2 separate regions of the Homo sapiens genome follow, and region 2 is linked to region 1. The links are contacts of gene promoters, found by promoter capture Hi-C in blood cells and fetal thymus (Javierre and others, 2016). All regions are on one chromosome and are shown on one strand. Each heading gives the region's core, a stretch centred on a gene start or on the middle of the fragment in contact. The rest is flanking DNA. Distances are from core to core; before and after follow the strand shown. Region 1 holds the start of IGF1 (insulin like growth factor 1). Region 2 overlaps PARPBP (PARP1 binding protein).

Region 1 (2,569 bases), core at 35-2,534:
GTAGTGGTGAAGTGTTTGAAAGCAGCAACTGAATGCTGCACTAAGTGGCAGAGACGTCTTATGAATTGAGCCCTCAGGCAATTGAATCGGTGGAGCCAGTGACAGCAGCTTAAAAGCGCTTGCAAATTGAAAAAAAAACACAAGTCTTGAAGGATATAATTTTGCTGAGAATGGAAACTAGAACTACGGCCAGCAATCGGAAACGAGAAGTCGGTGCACTGACAGCAGCAGCCAGATTTACCTAAAGGGACTTCACGACACTGAATATAAAATCAGAGTTTTATAACACAGAACCCCAAGTCCAAACTTTGCCCATGAAAGTCCTCTTCTAAACAGAAAAGTTGGGCAAGCAGCTCTTAGAAAGTTTCTGCTTTCCATATACAGTATGTATTTGTTTAAATTATACAAATATGCAAGGTCAGCAAGAGTTGTCAAGGAGTTCTTTTTTGGAAGAACAAATTACACTTTACTCTAACTTTAACACTCTCTCTGGGCATAAGTGCAGAGTTCCGGGACCTTAGCTCCAAAGATCATATTTAAAAGCTTTAATATCATCTAAAATACAACCCTTCATATATAGCATGCCTTGTAAATAAAGTCCTGATGAGTTACACACACAGAGACACATACACACAGAGACACATACACACATGCAAAAGAACATGGTCTTAAAAATAAAACATCTGCACCTGCAAAAGAAAAAAAAAATCCCCAAGTTCATATCCATGCTCTATAGCCCTTAGCCATAGAGAGGATTTAAAGGAATCTTCTGTAATGACACCACGGAAGCCCTGCAGAAGTGGAGGATTTAGCATAAGTACCTTGCAATAGTTTCTACTCATACAGATATCTGTGCAAATGCATCCATCTCCCCGAGCTATTTTTCAGATTCCACAGAATTGCATATTCAGCAATTTATAAATAACTCTCGGTTCCGAAACAATGAAAATTTTAAAGTGAAGAACAGTTCTAGGCAGAAGCAAACAGTACACAATTTAAATAGAATTCCCCAATGACTTCAAAGAGTAAGAAATATTTACCTTCAAGAAATCACAAAAGCAGCACTTAAATAATTGGGTTGGAAGACTGCTGATTTTTCCCATTGCTTCTGAAGTACAAAGTCTGAAAATGAATTGGTTAGCAGGAATAATGAAGCAAAAAGAAATCCAGAGAGATGGGAGATGTTGAGAGCAATGTCACATTTCAATTTTGAGGACTTTATTCCATTGCGCAGGCTCTATCTGCTCTGAATTTAGCAGTGACAGTGAGATTTAGCAAACAGAAGAGGGATTTAGAGAAAATCCTCACATTTATCTACAAAACACAGACACTGTAGACAGGAAACAGCTGGGGGAACATTTGCCTTCTCTCTCTCTCCCTCTTCTGGCAAAGTTATTGAGTAAGGACTTTTTTGGGCATGGTGACAAATAACATCATACCTTTGCATTTTAAAACTAGAGCACAGAAGCATTTTTTTCCCTTAAAAGAATGTGTGTTAGTGACAGGGTTCGCAGACATTAAAATACTTATGCTGCCATAGAAAATAAGGATCTGTTTTCTGATTAACTTTCTGCTGGGCATGAAGACACAAACGTCTGCTAATACACCTTACCAGTATTAAAGGAATATGGGGGATGGGAGAGCAATTTTAGATTCTAGAGCAAATGCATTATTTAAAACAAAAAAAGAAAGAAAGGACGATAAGACCCTCTCCAGCAAACTCTACAATTTTAACCCTGAAGTGACTGGGGTAAAGTAGATTGGAAGACAGCACTCGGGTGACCCCTTGTCCCAGTTGCCAAGTGAGAGGTGTGATCTCATTTCCTAGAACCTATGGAGGGGCAGGCAGCATTGGATTGGTCCCTTTAGGGCACTGTCTCATACTTTTTCTCCTGCGATGAGGCAAAGACTATGCCGAGCTGTAAAACCCAACTGAAATAGAACATTTTTCTTTATTCTTCTACTAGGCTGCCTGTCACTGTCCCCTCCCCACCCCACCACTCTGGGAGAAGGGTACCTGGGGGGCAAACAATTTTCCTGTTGTTTGAATTTTCCATATAACTCAAACCTGTGTGTGTGTGTGTGTGTGTGTGTGTGTGTGTGTGTGTGTATGACAGAGGGAGTCTGTGTGCCAGAGTGTGTTTTCTTTCTCTGATTTTTGTGTATTCTAAATAACACCAGCTGGCTAGCAATACCCTCTCGAGGGTTATGATGTCATTCAAATCCCTCAACTGGGTGACTGGCCGGCAACATGGTCCAAGCCAGCTGTTTTGCTATTTATAATGTACACTTGCCTTTGCCATTGAGAATTCAGTTCTGATCTTTTGTCGATACAGTTTGTACCTATTTCCCTTTGGTTTTGTGAAGCAGTAGATAAGAAAGTGAATTATAAAATAAGGTTGCAAAAGCCCAGAGCAGACATACCTCTTTCCCTAGAGAGCTCTCCAGGCCTGGTTTCCCAGGAGTGGTGGAAATAACCTGGACCTTGAATTTTTTCTTTTTTTTTTTTTCCACATGACTCTCAGGGGACTGACACATCAACTGAAAACACAGTTCTGCTTGAAATCCT
Region 2 (2,569 bases), core at 44-2,543, 310 kb before region 1:
TGAGTTGTCTATTCTGCCTCCAGTCTTAAGTTGCCCTATCCTGTCGTCCTCATTGCTGCCAGAGTGATTTTTCTGAAACAACAAATGTTACTCCCATAATTAAAACTTTTCAGTGATTCCATATTTGGTACAGGGTAAAGCTTCAGGAACCTCAATATGATACACAAAACTGTCTATGCTCTAACTCCTGCCCATCTCTCACTCTGACCTCTTTATCCTCCTCGTCTCTGTCAACCTTAAAACTTAGAAATAAAAATGTATTTAGCTCTTGTATCTGAGGAAAAGTTTATACTACTTATTTTTAAATAGAAAAATTACAGTAATGTTTGAGTCCAAGGAAGGGTGGAATAGACAGACTGGGAAGAAATAAAGAACACTCATCGCCCCACTGCCCACTTTTCATGAGGCCATCTTAGCTATAGGTGGCTGCATTTCTACACTTTGCCAGTAGGTGACACCATAAAATGCATAGTGTACTTTCACCTGAAAGATGTCTTAAATGAGATGTTTCAAGTTGTATCAATTAATAGTTCCCTGTTGTTCAGAAGTTGAAAATTCTGTATTTCACATTTATCACACAACTTTTTAATGCACATTTACATTATACTGTCATGCGCCACTTGATGAGAATATGCTCTCAGAAATGCATTGTTAGGCAATTTCATCACTGTACAAACATCATAGACTGTACATACACAAACCTGGATGGTGTAGCCTGCCACACACATAGGCTATATGGCATAGCCTATTGCTGCTAGGCTACAAACCTGTATGGCCTGTTACTGTATCAAATACTGTAGGCAATTGTAACACAATGGTATTTGTGTGGCTAAGCATATCTAAACATTGAAAAGGTCCTGTTCAGAATGCAGTATAAAACATAAACATAGATAAGCATAGGGTACTTGCCATGACTGGAGTTTGCAGCACTTGAAGTTGCTCTGGATGAGTGGTGAGTGAATATGAAGGCCTGGAACATTATTGTAAACTCTTGTAGACTTTATACACATTATAAACCTAGGCCACACTAAATTTATAGAGCAAATATTTCTTTCTTCAAGAATAAATTACACTTAGCTTGCTCTAACTTTATGAACTTTAAAATTTGACTATGAATTTTTTAAAATTTTGAAACTTTTTGAGTCTTGTAGTAACACTTAGCTTAAAACACAAATACATTGTACAGCTGTACAGAATTTTTTTCTCTGTATCCTTATTCTATATGCTTTTCTCTGTTTAATTTTTCTTTTTTTTTTTTTTTTTTGCTTTTTAAACTTTTTTGTTTAAAATTAAGACACAAACATAAACATTAGCCTAGGTCTACACAGGGTCAGGATTATCAATATGACTGTCTTCCACCTCCACATCTTGTCCCACTGGAAAATCTTCAGGAGCAGTAATACCCCTGGAGGTGTCATCTCCTACAGTCACAACACCTTCTTCAGGAATACCTCCTGAAGGACCTGCCTGAGACTATTTCAGTTAGTGCTTTTTTTTTTTTTAAATAAGTAGAAGGAGTACACTCTAAAATAATGATAAAAGGTATAGCAAACACATAAACCAGTAAGAGTCATTTATTATAATGACCAAGTATTATGTATTAAACATAATTATGTGCACTATACTATTATATTACTGGCAGCACAGTAGGTTTGTTTACACAAGCATCACCACAAACATGTGAGTGATGTGTTGAGCTATGATGCTACGATGTTACATCACTAGGCAATAGGAATTTTTCAGCTCCATTATAATATTATGGGACTACCATCATATATGTGGTCTGTTGCTGACTGTAATGTTATTATACAGCACATAACTATTTATGTTGGGCTAAATATACATGTTTGGAGTGTTAAATCTCACTGAAATTTTTCAGTCTAATCTCCTAATGTTAAAGTTTTTCTTGTTTAAAAATATTTCATGGCCGGGCTTGGTGGCTCACACCTGTAATCTCAACACTTTGGGAGGCCGAGGCGGGCGGATCACGAGGTCAGGAGATCGAGACCATCCTGGCTAACACGGTGAAACCCCGTCTCTACTAAAAATACAAAAAATTAGCCAGGTGTGGTGGTGGCGGGCGCCTGTAGTCCCAGCTACTCGGGAGGCTGAGGCAGGAGAATGGCGTGAACCCGGGAGGCGGAGCTTGCAGTGAGCCGAGATCGCGCCACTGCTGTCCAGCCTGGGCAACAGAACGAGACTCCGCCTCAAAAAAAAAAAAAAATTCAGAAATATTTTTCATATATTTTATGTGGCACCTTTAATTACATTTAATTTTTAAAGGTAAAATTTACTTCAACAAATAGTTATCAAATTCTTGAGTATGGTATGGAAAAGCAGTCACTTTATTTAGGAAAGTGAAGAACTCAGTAATTACATTAAAGTATTACCAATCATTTGTCTGTATTATTGCTTAGTGTTCTCTTCCAGTTACTTTATTTTGGTACAAGCTTGGGGATTCAGTTGTGCTTTTCATCAGCAGCCTCTTGTTTCTCTTTCTGCCCCAGGGCACTGGTGTGATGCAGTTAGGAGTCAGGAGCTCAGTTTGCCTCTTTCTCATCTAAATTCT

What was found. Contacts are between HindIII fragments. The CHiCAGO score rates a contact against its expected background, and 5 or more counts as called.
Region 2: a fragment that was not itself captured here is called in contact with the fragment with the promoter of IGF1 in region 1 in 5 of 17 cell types (endothelial precursors, megakaryocytes, total CD8 T cells and 2 more); the score reaches 17.7 in endothelial precursors.

Annotation. Positions count from the first base shown.
Region 1 is chr12:102,479,279-102,481,847 of GRCh38, forward strand. It overlaps IGF1 (insulin like growth factor 1), which reads right to left and starts at 1,285. Exons shown (of 4, transcript NM_000618.5): 1 at 1,041-1,285. The coding sequence starts at 1,103. LINC02456 (long intergenic non-protein coding RNA 2456) reads left to right here. Exons shown (of 13, transcript XR_007063427.1): 11 at 1-2,569. RefSeq lists an enhancer at 91-140. The HindIII fragment of the contact is 6,669 bases long and covers 542-2,569 here.
Region 2 is chr12:102,169,660-102,172,228 of GRCh38, forward strand. All of the region lies in intron 6 of PARPBP (PARP1 binding protein), which reads left to right. Among named protein-coding and RNA genes, the nearest start is that of PMCH, 27 kb to the right of the region's middle. The HindIII fragment of the contact is 2,310 bases long and covers 139-2,448 here.